Regions from separate parts of the Homo sapiens genome. Here region 2 is linked to region 1. Evidence: promoter capture Hi-C in human tissues and cell types (Jung and others, 2019). All regions are on one chromosome and are shown on one strand. The core of a region is centred on a gene start or on the middle of the fragment in contact, and the rest is flanking DNA. Distances in the headings are between cores, read along the strand shown.

The links. Contacts are between HindIII fragments. The study calls those that stand out against the background at their distance.
Region 2: a contact is called between a fragment that was not itself captured here and the fragment with the promoter of HOXA4 in region 1, in 1 of the 25 tissues and cell types used here (mesendoderm cells).

What each region holds. Positions count from the first base shown.
Region 1 is chr7:27,129,145-27,134,768 of GRCh38, forward strand. HOXA4 (homeobox A4) reads right to left here and starts at 1,613. Exons shown (of 2, transcript NM_002141.5): 1 at 974-1,613; 2 at 1-427. The coding sequence starts at 1,589. The coding sequence ends at 81. The region is part of intron 2 of HOXA3 (homeobox A3); the gene reads right to left. RefSeq lists a silencer at 1,771-1,840. The HindIII fragment of the contact is 3,192 bases long and covers 159-3,350 here.
Region 2 is chr7:26,446,698-26,452,541 of GRCh38, forward strand. All of the region lies in intron 1 of LINC02981 (long intergenic non-protein coding RNA 2981), which reads left to right. Among named protein-coding and RNA genes, the nearest start is that of SNX10-AS1, 50 kb to the left of the region's middle. The HindIII fragment of the contact is 4,909 bases long and covers 1-4,602 here.

The DNA of each region.
Region 1 (5,624 bases), core at 363-2,862:
AGGGGTGGATGAGGAACGGAGCAGGAGAAGAGAAGAGAAAAGCAGGTAAGGGATAGAAACTGGTTAAGATCTCTAGAAGATTATATGGAGGAGGGAACGGGTGTGGAGGTGCTCGGGTGGGGGTGGGGATGGAGGTGTGGGCTCTGAGTTTGTGCTTTCCCTGGTGGGCCGGCAGAGGCCGAGGCCGAATTGGAGGATCGCATCTTGGTGTTGGGCAGTTTGTGGTCTTTCTTCCACTTCATCCTCCGGTTCTGAAACCAGATCTTGACCTGGCGCTCAGACAAACAGAGCGTGTGGGCGATCTCGATGCGGCGCCGCCGGGTCAGGTATCGATTGAAGTGGAACTCCTTCTCCAGCTCCAAGACCTGCTGCCGGGTGTAGGCGGTTCGAGAGCGCTTAGGCTCCCCTCCGTTATAACTGGGGTTAACTGAAAACCCAGAACCCCGAAATAGAAGGCCAAGGAGGAGGGAGCGGAAGAGAGGGAAAGGAGGAGGAGAGAGAAGGTGGGGTGGGGAAGAGCAATTGGACATCATCATTATATAATAACCTGACACCAAGTTCACGCAAGATACATAAAACGGCAAAGAAAATGTTTCACAGGCTATTGACAACGGGAAACACCCGAGAGCCATAAAGAATGGTGCTGGGCATTGGGGCTGAAGAAAAGCTTCAAAGACACATGGCCTGAAGCCTCTGCCAGGGCAATTAAATTTATGGGGGCTATAATTACTGCCCTAACAGTTTGGCGTCTCGTAAATCTCCTGATAAAGGGACCCTGGGTACAAAAGGGTTCTCATGTTGGGATCAGGCGGCTGGCTGGCGCGCACATACCCACATCTCACCGCAGCCCGGGTCAGATGGGGGCTCCCCTCCCGAGGCCCCCTTCCCCTGAGCCTCTCCCTCCTGACCCCGACCCTCGAACCCAGGCCCAGCCCCGGCCCACCTCCCGCGCCTCCCAAGCGGCGCCACGTACCGGCGCTGACATGGATCTTCTTCATCCAGGGGTACACCACGGGCTCCTTGCCCTTCAGGCCCAGCGGGCTCTTGTCGGCCAAGAGCAGCGGGCACGCGGGGGCGCTGCCCCCTGCCGGGACGCCTGGGGTGGCGGGGGCCGCCTCGCAGCGCCGCGGGGCCGCTGGGGGCACGGCGCGAGGCTGCAGGGGCGGCGGCAGCTGGGGCTGCAGGACGTGGCTCGCATGCAGGCCGTGCGCTGGGCCCTTGGCTTGCGCCGGGGGCTGCTCGGGCTGGGGCGGCCGCCCGGGGCTGGCGCCGCCGCGGTAGCCATAGGGGTAGGCGGTGTCCGCGGCCCCATGCGCGGGGTACAGCGCGGCAGCAGGGTAGGCGGGCTCGCGGGCGGTCCGCGGCGCGTAGTAGGAGGCAGTGGGCTCTCGGCCGCCGCCCGCGTGAGGGAGCTGGGGCTGCTGCAGCGGCAGGTGCTGGGTCGGGGGCGCTGGGGGCTGCTGGTAGCCGGGGCCCCCGCCCGGGCCGCCGTCTGCGCCGCCCGAGCCGCTGTGCTGCGCGTACTCCTCGAAGGGAGGGAACTTGGGCTCGATGTAGTTGGAGTTTATCAAAAACGAGCTCATGGTCATTAATTTGTGAAGTGCAAAAATACTAATTTTTCTCGCGTTGTCGTTTTTTCTGGGCTTGCCGAGGCCCCTCCCCCTCCTGCCTCGCTTCCCATCCCCCTTTCCTCTGCGCCCTTCCCCTCCCCCCGCTGTCAAGTGCCCACTCCTCCCCCTCCCGCAGACGCCGCCACCAAAGTTCGAGCCGCTCCTCCCCAGCCCAGCGCGCGCCCCGCCCCGTGCCCCACGTGCAGCGCCCCCACCAATGGGCGCACCGCGCGCGCGGACCCGGATCAGGAAACGCGCGGGTGCGTGATGGATGCTGCTGTCCGGCCCCTGGGCTGGGGGAGGGAGCAGGAGCTTTGGACCCCAGCCCCCCAGCTTTGGTTCCCGCTGGGAATTCAGGCCCTGTCAGGCTGTAGGTCCTCTCGGGAGCCCTCTGCCTGCCCTACTGCTGGCCTAGGCCTCGGGCTGTCTGGCGGCCGCGACTCAGCGCTGACCTCGGGCGCAACCCAGTCAGGCTTCGTGTCCTTCAGGGGTTCTAGGCTAACAGGCGAAAGGAAGGGCGTTGGGACCGAGGGGCATCCTGGTTTTTATGTACGCCACTGAGAGGCCACCAGACACATTTTCTCAACCGCAGATCCCCCTTCCCCACACCCTGCTCCTTGCGTGTCAGCCTGAGAGCCCTTGCTTTGAGAAGCTTGGCAGAAGCTGCAAAGGGTGGGCGGGCAGCTAAGAGAAATCGACCCAAGGATGTAAATCGAGGCCATTCCATTATAACTGGATGGACACTTTTCATTTTTTCCTTCTTTCAGAGACAATCTGTTTCGTGTTTTCCTAAGAAAAATTGGAACCTTCGTAATAGCATCTAATTTGACGGGGGTTGTCGATGTGAGAGCTAAATATGCCCGCATTTACTAGGTGCGATTGTGAGAGAGAAGGTGGCCCAAGGATGGGAATGGATAGAAGCAACACCTCCACAGAACCGAGCTTTGAAAACAATAACTTCCTATTTCAGAACTATCCCCAAACAAAAACAAGCTAAGGGTAGAATAAACACCTTGCCGGGTCTGATCGCTGATGGGTCTTTTCCAGCTAAGAATTTCATGTTTTCTCTTTTAGATCCTGCTTTCTCAGGCAGTATCTGAGGCTAGAGTTATATTTGCAGGACAGTCTATAATTTCTGAATTGCTGAAAATTAGCGTATTAACGATATCAGAAGCTCCGGAAAGGAGGGAGAGGAGACTGTTGCCTGCTATTTGGTAATTGAAATTTGATGGGTACACTAATTACGCCATTATTAACAAATAAATTACTTATTAATTCCACCTAATGTTGATCTTTGAAGTAAATACTGATGCCTTATTTGTGCTGTGTGCTTTCTCCCTTTCTTTTCTGAGTAGTAGACATATCTAGATCCTCTACTTTTCAGCCTAAATTAAAGCAGTGTAAACTAGCATAGTCACCATTCTAAAAATATTTTCATATTGGCATGCAAAAGCAAGGATTTTTCAGCTGGTGCACCTTAGTTGATTTTTCAAAGAGCAGTATAAACAGCCTTCTCACAACTGAGTCTGGAACGCAGACAAGGAAAATTATTTCCTAAGCCTGGAGACACTTGAAAAGGAATGTCAATTCTATCTTCATTCATACTGGTTACTCATATGAGTTACTAAATGCTGGAATATATCCATTTGATGGATAGTCACTTAATGCTTAGCCACATAAAGCCTATTATATGGGACTAATCTTTAAACTAATTTAGGAAAAGAGGTTAAAAAGGGGATCATATTAGCTTTCTAACTGGAATCACCCTGAAGAGGTACAAAGAGATTTTCCACGTTAGGTGTATATGAGTGTGAAGAGTGCTGTCCATTCACATGAGGCACCCTGAAAATTTGTTTTTAAAGAAATTTGAGCCACAGACAGAAATCAACACTGAGTGTAATCTTTAGCCATCCTCTCTAGACTGGAGGAAAAATTTAGAATGTGATACATCTACCTGAACCAATATCTCTCCCTAGCAAGAAAAAATAATATACACATAGGTTATATAAAATGTAATATAAATAATATATAGACATACGTATTACAAATCTGAACCCTATAAGTTTCAGGGGGACAAAAAGCATGACAAGGAAATCTTCCCTCCTTCTCATGTCATCAGCCTTGAGTACTAGGGTCTTAACCATATCTGTTTAATATTTACAGACACTAAAACACAAAATTCTGTTGTTTAGCCTCAGAACCTTGTACCAAGTTTCTATTTTTAAGTATTAACGAGACATAAACACTGTTTTGTATACGGTTAACCCAAACGAGTTAGCTGTGCCTGTGTTTTGTGTGATTCTATTACTTTAGGAAGATGGCCTTACACAGAATCCCCCAAGGCCTGTAACTTGTCTTTGTGGTTCGTATCATAAACACAAACGGAGCCAGGACCACCAAGTGTTATCTCAACACCGACATTTTGACATTTTACTGCAAGATTTATGGCTGTAATAAACAATCTCAGTACCTTTTCTGAACCTTCCTCAATCTCCCTTTGCAAACCATAGCATCATTCCATTGAATCAAATAATCTTTTGAAAAACATTTAAAAAAAATACCTCTTGCCTTTACACAATATCCAAGACACCAAAGTAAAGCCAGGAAGAAACTAACTCAATTAATAAACAAACTGAAGTTTACCAGCAGCATCTCGCCTGAGAAAAGATGGGATGCCCTGAAATGTAGCAGAGAGGGAGCATGCTAATCCTCACACACCAACTGGCTCCAGTCCCAAGCGGGGTGAAAGCGTTATCCTTTCCTTAGGAAACTGGTGAGCACGTTTGCTCATTTCCACGTGCAGGGATAACATATATTCCCAACAAAAGCTTTCTTAAAATCCCATTAGGTGAAATAACTTTTCATCATGTCCTCGAATCCCAGATGGAGAAGAGTGAAGGGAGTCGGAGGGAGAGGGAGGGTGCAAGGGAGGCAATGTTTTGCAGCTTGGTTTGAATCTGATTTGAATCATTTTGAATATATTTGTAACAGCATTCCCTCTTGAATGCAACCCTGTCCCAAGTTTCAAAGTGACCGAACAGTGACACCGTGTGCATTTTGTTTCTTATTAATCTTACACATTGACAGTCTTTGTTAAATCACAAGGCGCGCCCTTCACTAGCCGACATTTTCATATTTGTTAGACGCACTGACCTGAAGTTCACCTCGGCCTTGGACTTTGCGCTTCTAAAAGGTCTATACAGTGTCTTTTAGAGAGCAGGGTGCTTTGCCCAGGTCACTCCTTCTCAGGAAAAACCAAGGGGAAAAGCCAAAGGAAATGTAAACGTTATGGAATGTATTGACTGTATTTGTCCTTTGTTCTTTAGAGCGAGAGTCCCCCAGACTGTTCTCTATCTGATGCATGTCTCTAGAGCTGAACAGTGGAATGGCAGAATTTCAAAACGCCTGATGGTGGCATTTGAAGGCTTCCCCACCACCTACACTAGACACAAGATTTGAGAGGAACAACACTTTACCAGCCATTTGACCAATTAATTCTTTGGGGATAATTTTCTTGTAGTAGTTTAAAATAATGCACACAACGCAGGGATGAGGACTGATATTCATATTGGGATTACACATGAATTTTAACTGGGATTGTTTGAGAGGCCTGAGGTTCAAAATCCTCCAGATAAAGCAAGCACACTAAAAGCAATAAATTCTGCAAGTACTCTTTTCTTTTACTTTGAAGACTAGCTAAGAGGTATCTATGGTTTTTGAAGCTGACATGTCTATAAGGTGTGTCACATGTTTTTAACCAAAAAGCACAATAAAAAGGTTTTTCCCAAAGAGACACGTAATTGTCTTGTTGACTCATCGAGGGGTTTCAGTTTTCCTCATTTCACTAGCCCAAATGTGGTGAAATGTTCACTGCTGCAACAGCAATCACCACAGTTGTTTCCTTTCTTCTGTTTCATCTGGCAAACCCCCATTTGGCTTCAAGCTCTTGGCCAGAGTGAAAACTTTACACATTGCACAGAAGCACCCTGATTACTTCCATGAAGGCAGTGTTTG
Region 2 (5,844 bases), core at 898-3,397, 680 kb before region 1:
TAATTTTATATTTAACTTTTTGAGAAACCACCTAATTGATTTTAAAAGCAGCTGTACCATTGTACATTCTCACCAGCAATGCGAAGGATTCCAATTTCTCCGTGCTCACCAACACTTACTTTTTGTTTATTTTTGATTATAGCCATCCTTGCGGGTATGAAGTGGTATCTCATTGCATGTTTTTTCCCCTTTTTTCACTGTGGTTTTGATTTGCATTTCGCCCCACCCCACCTTTATTTTTTAAATTCAGAAGAGTTGTTTGGTCTTCATGGCTTCTTTGAATCCTTAGACTATCCCTGATGGTTTATGTACAAAAGAGGTTTCTGTGGAAAAAAAAGACCCTCTTGTACAACTCCGGTAGGATTTTAAATTAGTACAAAGTCTGTGGAAAGTCATTTGGAACACTCCCCATTGAAATTACAAACACACACACCCTTTGATCCAGCAGTTCCAAGTCTATGAATCTGGCTTATGGATATACTCCCATGTGAACAAAATGATGTATCTATAAGGTTATTCACTGCAACATTGTTTATAATAGCAACAGATGGGAAACAAAATAAATGCCCCTCAACCGGGAACTGGTTAAACAAATTTTGGCACAGCCATACAATGGGATCCAGTACAGCTGTAAAAATGATGGAGACACCTCTTTGTGTGCTGGTATGGAGGGAATCCCAAGACATATTGTTAAGCAGAAAAAGAAATCAAGATGTAGAACAGTGTATAAATAGTCTGCCCTTCATATGAAAATGAGAGAAAAAGAATATGTGTGTGTATGTATGTATGCATATATAAATGCTTGTATTTCCCTGAATATTCATGAAATACCTTTGTAGAAAGGAAATTGGTGGTGAGAGACAAGAGTGGGAAGAAAACTTTTTACTGTATATCCTCTTGTGCCTTTGGAATTTCAAACTCTGTAAATATATTTCCTGTTCGAAAAATTAAATTGAAATGAAGACAACTCATAAACACCTAGAAATCTCATTAATTTGGGCTCTGATAGATCTGATCTTATGGTGATTTCAGTAGGACATGGACTCTAAGGTAAGCTTTGCTACACAAAGTGATGCCAGGGACAGGGTTGCAAAAGAAATAATTCAAGATCTCATCCCTCCCCCTTCCACTGCAGTCCCGGCTGCAGCCTTAGCTCACTGACTTGTTCACAATTTGAACTTAAGTCAGGCTTCCCGAGGCCATCCTGAATGACTTCCCGCAGTTCCCCCTTGCCCTTGTTCTGAGAGTCCTGCCCTTGGGCTTGCCCCAACACATGGTGCTCAAACAGAAACCAATGGGACTGGAGTATGCAGAGGAGCAGGTACAGCCCTAGACACTGGAAAGAAATTATGTCCAAAGTAAGTCTTTGAACTTGAGGTTGGGCACTTTGTGGCACCATGTTATCCAAGAGCTCTGAGTAGATCAGACGGCAGAGGAAGAGAAGTCTTAGCTCTGTCACTTTCTTGGTCAGTGTCTTTGGGCAAATCACCACATGCCTCTGAATCTCTGTTTTCTCATCTCTAAATGGGGCCAATACATGCAGGATTGTTGCATGTAGATGATGAGATGTTAAGAGGGCTTTTCTTTCCTTTTTTTTTTTTAACCCCCAGAGATGGGGTCTTGCTCTGTTGCCCAGGCTGGAGTGCAGTGAGTGGTATGATCATAGATCACTACAGACTCTAACCCTTGGGGCTCAACCAATTTTCCTGCCTTAGCCTCCCGAGTAGCTGGGACTATAGGTATGTGCCACCATGCCTGGCTAATTTTTAAATTTTTTTGTAGAGATAAAGTCTCACTATGTTGCCCAGGCTGAAGAGGGCTTTCTTAATATAAGCCTTATAAAATGCTGTAAGAACATGAAGGTTAACTTGAAAGTCACTATGAAAAGTCCACATTGGTTAAACATCTCCAATGTGCTTACTATGTTTGTGAGCTGGAGAGATGACAAAGAAGAATAACAGATTCTCCACCCTTCAAGAGTTTTGAGGGCTCATAGGCTAGTGAGAGAGGTGGTTGTGAAGACAATTAATTGCAGCAGAGTGCTAAGTATAGAATATAATGGAACACCAGGTGTAGGGGTGTGGGGAGGAGGAAGGCACAACTGTGCCTGGGGACTCAGCAAAGGCTTCTGAGACCAGAAGATGTTAGGGTTGAATCGTGAAAGGGAAGTAGGAGGTTGCCAGGCATGTAGGGCGCATTCCGGGTGGAGGAAACAGTCTGTGAAAAGGCAAGACGGGAAAAAGGAGAGAATGTTTATGGGCAACTCCAAGCAACTGGTTGCTGCAGAGTTTGGGGTATGTGGGTGGGAGCTGAGGTTGAAAAGGGATGACCAGGTCACATCTTGGAGACCTCTTTTATGGAGGTCACAGCTAAATGATGCAGTAAGAAATAAAACAAAAATACGTAAATATGGCAAGCAATCCTTTTACAGATCCTTCTCTCAGACATAAGATACTAAAAGACACTGAGCTTCCATATTTTTGACTCCCGACTCCCTGTGAGATGCACTGGGCATGAGCTTTGAGCATGCCCTTGTGAGGAACTCCAGCCAGCAGTCCTGGACTTTGAGCCATCCAGGCCAGACTGCAGATGATTCCAGCTCCTAGTCATGGAGTCACTCCAGTCAAATATCAAAATACTTTGGATATTTCCTGCTGAGGTCCTGGATGAGCCATCCTCACTGCGCCCATTAAATGATTCCTAGAATCTGTGAGTACAGGAAGTTGTTATATCCCAGGATGAAGTCACTGATCTAGAACAGGGAAAAGCCTTCACGTTGAGGACAGCTGCCCTGGGGAAGAGGATCATCTGCCCAGGGCACGTCCCAAGGTCATACGATTCATGCTGCTGCCACTGGCCTTTCCAAAACCCAGACACCATCATGCCACTCCTCTGATTTAAAAGCTGCCGTGGGTCCTCTCTGGCTGCAGAATGTAGCCTAACTGCTCAGTCCGTTGCTCAGGTTATTCACAGCCCAGCCCTCACCTTCGCCTGAGCTTCCTCTCCTGTGACTCTCCTCAGCAGCTCCAGGTCCTTGCCTCTTTGCTGCTTGGGGAAAGCATACTCCTCATTCAGGGTCAGCCAATTCCCGCCTGTCCTCACAGGCAGAGGAACAGCCTCCTCTTCTAGGCTCGCTCAGCACTCGACACTTTCTTCTTAGAGCTCTTTTCAGACGTTCACTTTTTGTGTTTGTATTTTGGCAAGACTGTGATTTCCTGGAGGGTAGGGACCATGTCTGACTCATGTCTGTAGTCTCAGGGCCCAGCTCTGTGTCCAGTTCAGTAAATGTTTTAGATGATTGAATGGATGCCTGGGAGGAAGGGAGGTGTGCTCCCCAGCAAACAACTGAGTGAATGTTTTCCAGGGGTGAGTCAGGAGTGATCTGTAAGTGCTATCCTCTACTGCTTTGTCTTCTGCTGTTTTTCTTTCATTCTTTCCCTCCTGCATTGCTTCTCTTATACTCATTTTTAAAATACATCTTTCTAAAATTTTTAAAAAAATTTTTTAATAATTAAAAAAATAAAGATGGGATCTTGCTAATTTGCCCAGGCTGATCTTAAAATACTGGGCTTAAGGAATCCTCCTGCCTCGGCTTCCCAAAGTTCTGGGATTACAGGCATGAGCTACTGCACCCAGCCGATTTTTTTGTGCACAAATTTTTAGAAATACCTGCCATGCAGGGGTTTGTATATTTGGGGCATAGATACCCAGGTAATACCCCCATCCCAGAACAGTTACTTCAGTTGTTCTGTGGATGATAAATCAGAGACCTACAATGTAGATTTCTCTTTTATATGTCTTTATTGCCTATATTAGGATTCATTAGTTACAATGAAAAGGAGAGGTAGAAACAACATAATTCAGTGTTCTGACACAAGGCTGTTTCCTCTGGTCCACAGGCTAATTTTTTTTTTTCTACTTAGAATTAGAAACTGATGATACTTCCACTTTTTCCCTTAGGAAAATGTTTAAGGATTTAGTGATCTTACTTTGAGGGTAATTCTCCAATGATGCTGCCTAAATGTTTCTCCTTTAATTTCATCCCAAGGCCAAGCTTTAATGCTTGAAATGATTAGTTCACACTGCAACTAATTTAGAATTTGAGTTAACACAAACACAGTTTGCATGTATATTCTCATAAGAAAGGTTTGAAATAACCCTTTATCTGCAAGGTTTCAGTATTACCAACATGCAGCATTTCATCCAAATTTGTCACCATTTTACAAACAAAGGGCTCAAGAAATCAAGGCCTTTTGAATCATCAGGGCCTACTAAATTTTTTAAAAGACTAAATGCTTATGATGCATGAATAGGTAATGGAGGCATTTACAAATTTCAATTTTTAGTCCATTAATCTCATTTACTTATTAAGAATCATTTATAGAAAATTCAACTCAACCAAGTACCTGTATAAGGTAATGTAGGCAATGATTTTGTAAACTAGTAAAAATTATGTCAGGTATTATTGACATCTGCACGTATTTGTAAATCCAAGACTGCATTTTAAAAGATGTAGACAATCTAGATGTATTTGCCTACCATTCTGTTACAAGTAAATCTATATATATTTTTTCTTTTTTTAATTATTTAATTAATTTTTTTTCTTATACTTTAAGTTCTAGGGTACATGTGCACAACGTGCAGGTTTGTTACATAGGTATACATGTGCCATGTTGGTTTGCTGCACCCATCAACTCGTCATTTACATTAGGTATTTCTCCTAATGCTATTCCTCCCCCCACCCCCATCCCATAACAGGCCCCAGCGTGTGATGTGTGATGTATATTATTTTTATTGTGATGTATATTATTTTTCACGTTAAGATAAACAAAACCAGAAAATGTGTTTCTACTTTTTGTATTTCTGCTTTTTGTATCCCATATCCTGGAGAGAAACGAACTTTCGCATCGCAGCTACCTGCATTTTCAAGTCAAGTAAACAAACTTGGAATCCAAAAGTGTAAGCAGCACCTCTGCTGGAGATAAGAAGTGGCTTAGACATAAACCCCATCACTACCCCTCCCACAACCTGCTTCCTACCTCATCTTTCTTCCAGCAAAGCTGGTTTGAAGGCTCTGGACTTTTGATCATGGCCTCGGGCCGCTGTCCTGGATGGCTGGTCTCAGAAGACCCTCTGAAAACCCAAAGAAGCTTTGGCTACCAGGGGATTCATTTCTCATCTTAAAATTATTCTTTAGAGACAAGATTTAAACCTTCACTTTCTAGGCCTTAGAGTTCCCTTCTCAGAATAACAGGTGGATTACACCGATGGCTGCATTCTCCCCACAGCGGCCACAGGATATTTAAAAATGTAAATCATGTCCCATAACCTGCCTTCCCATTGCACTTCAGATATCCAGGTTCCTCATCCAGGCCTTCGAGGGCCTTTGGGATCCTGCTGTGCTCCCTTTACATGCCTGGCTTGAAGCTCCTCCCCTGCCAGCCTTGCTCTTCCCCTCCCAACCTCGCTCTGCTCCAGCCCCGCTCTCTGGTCTGGCCTCATACATGCCCAACTTTCAGCCTCCAGGGACTTTGTGCATCAGGTATTTCTGTCTAGTGCATTCTTTTTTTTTTCTGTTTGTTTGTTTGTTTTGGCATGCATCCATGCATTCCTCCCCTTTAGGTCTCAGCTTAACCCTCACCTGACCACCTGGTCTACACTTGTTCCCCACAAACCCTTCTGTATTGTCTCACTCCATATCAGTCTTTGTTACAGCACCATTTTCATTCTCTCCTGGGCCTTTACATTTGGTCATGACTTCTTTACCTATCTCTGTGCTTCCCCACCTGACTATAAACTCCATGGGAGCAGGTACTTCAGTCATCTGGGCCTTGCAGGAGGCCC